2 separate regions of the Homo sapiens genome follow, and region 1 is linked to region 2. Evidence: promoter capture Hi-C in 16 types of primary human blood cells and fetal thymus (Javierre and others, 2016). All regions are on one chromosome and are shown on one strand. The core of a region is centred on a gene start or on the middle of the fragment in contact, and the rest is flanking DNA. Distances in the headings are between cores, read along the strand shown. Region 1 overlaps DNAJB6 (DnaJ heat shock protein family (Hsp40) member B6). Region 2 holds the start of INSIG1 (insulin induced gene 1).

Region 1 (3,770 bases), core at 1,062-3,561, 2.0 Mb before region 2:
CAGGCGTGGTGACACGCGCCTGTCATCCCAGCTACCTGGCAGGCTGAAGCAGGAGAATGGCTTGAACCCAGGAGTGCAGTGAGCCAAGACCGCGCCACTGCACTCCAGCCTGGGACACAGAGCAAGGACTCCATCTCAAGTAAATCAGTCAGTCAACTAATCATCAATCAATATTCCTTCTCAAGTAGGATATCTCCAGGAACATGAAACAGGTCAACAGTGATTTATGTCCATACAAAAACATAAAGGGTTTTGTTTGACAAAACACCTCATTAATATCAATACAAAAAAAAAAATCACATTTTTACTAGTTGACTTTTCTGCAGGTAGGCGTTGTCGTTTTTCCATTCCTACATCATCGTTTCTAACATATTCTTGTTTTCACCAACTTTGCTCTTCTTCTCATTAACCTCATTTTTTTGAGTTTGATATTCTCAAATTCTATTCATCCTTGAACTACACCATTTGCTAAATCCTGCCACTGATCCTACTCTTACTCGCTAATGAGCCTGCAGTTACCCGCCTCTCACCACCAGGTGGGGTCCTGCACAAATTTAACCAAACCACATTTTGAACAGAATCATTTCTGAGGAAATGAAAAAGTTTTAAAAAGGTTTCCAAAAAACGCTGTTAATCCAGTGTGTAACCTCGATGCAAATAAATACTAAGAAGTAAAAATCCCGTCAAAACGTCAACTCACAAATACAAAGGCTAATTACATTCTCTTATTCCTCAACAGATATCTGTAAGCATTAACCAATATAGAAGCTGACCTTTACAGCAGACGACAGTAAGGTGTCTGTGCGGTCCCGCGGTGACACCCAGTCCACAGCGACACGTTCAGGATGACTAAAAATACCTGCCCAAGTTATGAAGTGCCCTCTTATAATACTCTTTAAAGTGACAGCCGGACGCGCGGGCTCACACCTGTAATCCAGCACTTTGCGAAGCCGAGGCGGGTGGATCACCTGAGGTCAGGAGTTCGAGACCAGCCTGAACAACATAGTGAAACCTCGTCTCTAATAAAAATAGAAAAAATTAGCTGGGCGTGGTGGCGCATGCCTGTAATCCCAGCTACTCGGGAGGCTGAGGCAGGAGAATCGCTTGAACCTGGGAGGCGAAGTTGCAGTGAGCCAAGATGGTGCCATTATACTCCAGCAGGGGCAAGAGCTAAACTCCATCTCACACACACACACACACACACACACACACACACACACACACACACAAAAGGCCGGGCGCGGTGGCTCATGCCTGTAATCCCAGCACTTTGGGAGGCCGAGGAGGCGGATCACGAGGTCAGGAGATCAAGACCATCCTGGCTAACACGGTGAAACCCCGTCTCTACTAAAAAAATACAAAAAAATTAGCCGGCTGTGGTGGCGGAAGCTTGAAGTCCCAGCTACTCGGGAGGCTGAGGCAGGAGAATGGTGTGACCCCGGGAGGTGGAGCTTGCAGTGAGCCGAGATCGCGCCACCGCATTAATTACGGCCTGGGCGACAGAGCAAGACTCCGTCTCAAAAAAAAAAAAAAAAAAAAAAAAAAAAAAGGTGCAAACAGACCATTCCACCCCCACCTCAGACCTGGATTTAGGTTATCTAGGTTGAAGACTGATGAGGGTGACGGGTACCACTGTCCAAAACAGAGTTAATAGAAGGGAATTACGGGCTTGCTTAAAAATGAAAGCTAATGTACGCCACTCAGTAACAGGTATCACACTGTAATACCATATGCATATTTTAGTCTTCACAACATTCAACACTCCCCACCTAGTGTTCCGGAAAAACTGTCCTACAGCCAGAATTACTTCCCAAACCTAACACTTTCATATCCAGAAGAAAATAAATTTTAAAACACTGTTTTGAAGAGAGTGCTGAACTCATCTCAAATTCTTTAAGAGCTCTGCCCTCTGGAATTCCCAACTTTCTCACCTTCCACAGCACAGATGAAGCCTGGACACTTTCCAAAAGCTTCCCAACCCCTTTGTTCTCCCACTTCCTGTCAAATCTCCACATCTACCAACTTAAGGCAACTTACTTCCCAAATTTCACAGCCTGCGTAATCCACAAAAACCCGCAGCTCGCTGAAGCGTGCATAAAAACTATTCATCCCTTTATCACGGAAGGCAGAAAGAAATGTGAAAGCACAAACTCCAAGGGAGCTTAAGGCCCTCAGGAGTGGAAACAAGTCTGGAGTCGGCGAGGCGCGGTGGCTCGCGCCTCTAATCCCAACACTTTGGGAGGCCGAGGCAGGCGATCACTTTAGGTCATAAGTTCGAGACCAGCCTGACCAACACGGTGAAACCCCCGTCTCTACTAAAAATACAAAAATTAGTCGGACATGGTGGCGAGCACCCGTAACCCCAGCTACTCAGGAGGCTGAGGCAGGAGACTCGCTTGAACCTGGGAGCTGGAAGTTGCAGTGAGTGGAGATCGCGCCACTGCACTCTGGCCTGGGCAACAGAACAGACTCCGTCTCAGGAAAAAAAAAAAAAGGAAGTCTGGAGTAAACCCAGAGAGAACGCGGGACGGGTGGACTGGCGGAGGAGTAAGGCGGCTGCATATAATTCCTTTCAGAAATCATGAATCGTTCTGATACGCAACACTATTTGGAAAAGTGCGGTTAAACACGAAGCAGCAGCAATCAAGCTTTAATGGTTAACGTCTGTTTCCTTTCTTCGGTCTTCACTCTAACTTTTCTACTAAATCAATAATTTGGCTTAAATTGTAGCGACAAATCCTTACTAAAATTCGCAACTCAATAAAAACGTTGAAAACTACAAAGAGCGCCGCTCAGCCTACTCTTCCCAAACAGGCTGAAGCCTCCGAGCTCGCAGGCGGCACCCCTTCGGTGGTGGCACGATCGTTCTACTTGCGCTGTTTCCTGCCCCGTTTACGTGAGAAGTTAGCACAGAAGTTTACGTCTGACTAGCAAACCCATCCTTTAAAAAATTCGCTAGTGCCAAAACCTTTCTCGAGCCAATATATGATTTGCAGTTTACACTGCGTGTGTCACTGACCTTCCTTAGGTAAGAGTTAATGTAAACTTCTTATATAAACTTCAGTTGCATCAACTACGGTGCAGATTCTTTAACGCAAAGCAAAGCAGACAAACATTCTGAGTGAGAAAGGCAGCCTGCTCTTCCACAAACTTCTGAACAATCCGTCCGGAGTTCTAGAAACAGGGCTTTGCGGTCCCCCACCTGCTTCTTCTCCCTCCGAACTTGGCGGCACGGCTGCGGCATTCCTGCTCCGCAAGCCACTCCCGTTTCTGGTTTCAGACGCGAGTGCGGGAGCCTTAGAAAAAGAAGGCGCTCCACGCCTCCCACGCTGCCGGCCCCGCCGAGCCCCAGCCGAGCCCCAGCCGGCCGCTCCCAGGCCGGGCCCCACCCCCAACCGCCGCCGCGGAGGCTGGGCCGCGTTCCGGCAAGGACGCCGGGCGGGGAGGACGCGGCCGGGCGGCCCCAGACCCCAGCCCCGGCCCCGGCCCCAGACCTGACCCAGAGGACCCCGCCCACCCTTCGCCCCGCAACCCCGGCCACGGCCCCCGCCCCGTCCAGTCCTTTCCCCGGCCGGCGACCCCGGTCACCCCCCGCGCTGTTGCCAGGCGCCGGGTGAGGTCCGCCGTCTGCCGGGCGCGCGCGGGGCCCTAGGCGACCTCCCCCGACCCTCGGAACAGACCCTCACCGAGGACAGAAGCGGCCGGTGGCGGGACGCAGGGGAGGCAGGGTGACGGCCCGAATCTCCTCACAGCTCCAGGACTGCTGCGCT
Region 2 (3,740 bases), core at 1,241-3,740:
TAACTTTACTTCACTATAGCTTAATAAATAAATAGGTAAAAAACATACTATGAAAAATTTTACTTATGCTCTTGGCTGATGGTTTAAAAAAAAGTAGAATATGAGAGTATGAGAAATTGTCCAGATATTCCTAGAAACCCTTGAGGATCCAATTACAAATACTGAAGGCTAAACTATTTCATTTCTAAGATCAAGTTTTTGGTTAAAGGAAAGAAACTATTCTGCCAAATGTATATGAAACATGGAATTTTAAATCTAGATATAGTTCTCAAAAAATGTTCAATTAGTACAGCCACATAAAGTGTTTCGAAAAACGAAAGAGGATCCCGTCCCTCCGAGAACAAATATGAAAACATTCTACCCACTACTTAATAATTACAGACACCTGTCCTAGTTCTTCAACACGGAGCCCTCTGTTAATCTGCTACAAACCTCTCTGCTGCTTGCTGTTTTCAGTGAGTCAACTGAGGCAATGTGTTTCCACAGTGCAGGAGACACACCTACCAAGGCAGCAGGAGCAGTTACCAACGATGGCTTGGCCCCTTTCTACCTGCGCACCCTTGGATGTGACTTCACCTGTGATTCAGTTGCCACATCTATAAATGAAGCTACACATGGTATTGCTGTAAGGAATGAACACAGCAAAGCATCTGAAGCCTATGGTCAGCAGTCAGCTGACAAACGTCAGCCACAAAGCAAACAGGATGCTCCCTGCACTGCACTGGAGTCACTGACATACTGGTTTGTTTTCCCCACCAGACTCTAAGCTGCTTAAGGATAGGGGCTTGTGGTGCTCACTTTTGGATTAACATTTCAACAGCTTATAGAGTTGAGGTTGCAGAAAGCACCCGACAAGCTCGTTAAATAAACAAATGCTGTGTGACTACAGGAGCAGTAAGTGATCTGCTGAGCCAAGATCAACTCAACATTTCTATAAAAGCGGTTCAATGATAGCCAAGAAAGTCTAGTACACACACCCAGCAGTCCCCGTGTCCACAGTTCAGACTGACTCAGTGTTACGTTGTACAGCATCTATGCTACTGCTTGGGTGTACGAAAATCTAAACGCCGTAAGGGGGTTACTCTTTTCCTTAAGAACGTAATCTACAGAGCTCTAACAGTTCAGGGTGTAGGCGGTTTGGCTTCAGACCACAGTTTACTCAGCGACCCGGCAAAAGGAAGTGCTGAGAAGTTGCTCCCCTGGCAACCGCCTCCTGAACCCATGTGACGGGTTTGTTTTCAGTTATCCAGCAGGGTAGCATGTTTGCTGCCGCGACCAATGGCCTTTCAGTCCCGCTGCTCACCAGTTCCCCAGGCGGCCAATCCGGGGCGGCTGGCGCGGGATGACAGCTGGGGCTGTACCCGGACGCCAGGAGGGAAGGGCCCTCAGTCAGCTTGGCACAGCACCTGCTTGAACAGCCAATTATCTCCCTGCCTCATCTCCATCACTGTGCTTCCTCAAACTTCAGAGAGCTGTGGCCCGAACCCGCCCTCGGGGGTGCCAGGTCCTCTCTACCCCTCCTTCATTTCTCTAAATCCCAAGACTGGAGATGCACACTTTCAATCTGTGGATAGTTCCAGTTTCAAATGCATGTTTCTTATAGGCTGAAAAGTACTTTCAACCGAAAAGACACCCTTTTTACTTCCAGAAGAACCAGGAGGGGTACTCACCAGCTGCTGTCCCGCAGCAGGGAGGGACCCACCAGGCGGAGGAAAAGATGGTGGCGATCACCTCCTCGGGGAAGAGAGTGACATTCCTCTGGATCTGCAGCAGGTTGAGCACCAGGGCTAGGACCACCCCAACCGAGAAGAGCACGAGGCTCCTCTGCAACAGGCGATGATGCCAGGTGTTGGGGTAGGGGCTGCCGGGCTCGGGGCCGCTCATCGCAGCACTGCGGCCCCTGGGCGCGGGGTCAGCGTCCGGGGCACCGTGGGCCGCCAGCAGGGAGGGCCCGGACACGGAAACGTTGATCATCTCCCCAACCTTGGCCGCCAGCCCCGCGGCGCTGGCTCGCGGGGGGCCTCGGCGCCTCGCGCTGTGCGCACAGGAGCAGCTCCAGAAGTGGTCGTGCAATCTGGGCATCGGTCACACGCGTCCAAGAGGCGCTTCCTGGAAGAAGGGGGTCATCAAGTTCACTCAGAAGAGACAAAGAGCGAGGAAGGCCCCGCGGGACGCGAACCCCGGCACCCGGGCCAGGCGGCAGCGCCGCCCCCCAAGGTTAGACCCCCGTGCGCCCGCCCGGGGCCAGCGGCGGACGGGACCCGCGCTCACAGCGAGCAGCATCCCCGGCCCCAGCGGGACCCGCGTCCCAAAGACCCAACAGGGCCCGCGCCCGCCTACCTCCGGGGAGGACCGGCTGCTGCGCGACCAAAGCCCGCCCGCGACCCCTATCCCAGCCGGCCGCGTACCTGGCCGAGAGGCGCCCGCCCGCCGGCTCTCCGAACGGAGGCGGGGCGGGGGAAAGGAGGAGTCACGGCCCGGGACGGCCGCAGCGCCTGGCGGGCGCGCGGGTTTATATGGCGGGCCGCGGGGCCCGCATCACGTGAGCCTGCCCGGCCTACCCACCGCCCGCGCGCACCGCCCAGGGGCGTGGCCTGAGCTTGCCCCGCCCCGCCCGCGAGCCCGTCCGCACGCGGTCTGGTGAGGCGGCCGCAACCAATGGGAGGCCGGCGGCCCATATGACGTGCGCACACGCCACCGCCGGCCCGCGCGCACTCGGGCGGGAGCCTCGGCACGGACTGCGGGGCGCGTGGCGGCTGCGGGGCACGCGGGCCCGAGCGGGACTGGCCGGCTGCGAGTGGGCGGCCGCGGAGCTGGGGCCTGGGAGGGGACGGTCCTGCCGGGAGGAGGCGGAGGCAGGACAGGGTGGGGTTGCGGGCCCGGCGCCGCCCCTCCCGGCTCCTGGCTCCCCTCGCCTGGTGTCCCGCGCCTGGCCGGGAGGCGGCGGGTCTCGATCGCGCGGGCCTCCCTGGAGGGGCGCGGGCTCTGGCGGCGGGGAGGCCCCTGCTCAGCGCAATGGCGGGCTTGCATCCTTGGGTGATTTTTTCGGGCCCCTTGTGGCCTTTGCTCACGCCTAGAGAGCAAACCACCCGCACCACCCAGGAGCAGATAAAATCGAGACCACAGCCTCCAAGGGAGCGCGCCTCCATCCTGTTTGCCCCTCGGGTCGCCGTCTGAGGGCGGGCCCGTGCCCGCTCAGAGCCTACATCCGAGTCGTATAAAGCGCTGACAGCAGAGAAAGCTGCGGCTTTGCTCCGTGCAGATGAGCAGGGGCTGAGGGAGGACGCTGTGCTCTCAGTAGCCGCGCTTGGCCCGGGGACCCTGCAGGCTTAGAAACGTGAGTCACGCCTGCAGCGTGGCGAGGAAACGCCGTTGATGTGGCATCCTCAGCCTGGGGTTGTGGCTTTAAGCCAGAAGGTCAAAAAAAGAAGTCTTCCTGAGCTGAGACTGCCCTGAGTCGCTTTAGGGGCGAAATTCCGAGCATCCGGTTGCATTTCCTGAGGATGACACGCGTGGTGGGTGTGGACGGCCTACAGGGGTCCATCCTCAGCGGCCCCTCTGCAGGGCAGTCTCGCTCTCACTCTCCCAGCTGACTCCTCTCAAGCCTGTTAACCATTGTACACGTTCCCAAGGACTCCAAGCAGGTTGGACTTCAGGGAACATTGCAGTTTGGGTCTTGGCCATTGTTTACACTCCACCTTGCATAAGTGCTTGAGGATCACACAACCAGATACGTAGAT

The links. Contacts are between HindIII fragments. The CHiCAGO score rates a contact against its expected background, and 5 or more counts as called.
Region 1: a contact is called between a fragment that was not itself captured here and the fragment with the promoter of INSIG1 in region 2, in 1 of 17 cell types (total B cells). The highest score is 6.3, in total B cells.

Annotation. Positions count from the first base shown.
Region 1 is chr7:157,337,061-157,340,830 of GRCh38, reverse strand. DNAJB6 (DnaJ heat shock protein family (Hsp40) member B6) reads right to left here. Exons shown (of 10, transcript NM_058246.4): 1 at 3,687-3,770. Among named protein-coding and RNA genes, the nearest start is that of DNAJB6, 1.9 kb to the right of the region's middle. RefSeq lists enhancers at 1-292, 2,595-2,644, 3,373-3,770 and silencers at 3,305-3,494, 3,555-3,764. The HindIII fragment of the contact is 678 bases long and covers 1,973-2,650 here.
Region 2 is chr7:155,296,628-155,300,367 of GRCh38, reverse strand. INSIG1 (insulin induced gene 1) reads right to left here and starts at 2,490. Exons shown (of 6, transcript NM_005542.6): 1 at 2,409-2,490; 2 at 1,671-2,109. The coding sequence starts at 2,082. It overlaps INSIG1-DT (INSIG1 divergent transcript), which reads left to right and starts at 1,388. Exons shown (of 2, transcript NR_183448.1): 1 at 1,388-2,217. RefSeq lists enhancers at 965-1,034, 3,445-3,494 and a silencer at 2,155-2,984. The HindIII fragment of the contact is 6,135 bases long and covers 1-3,740 here.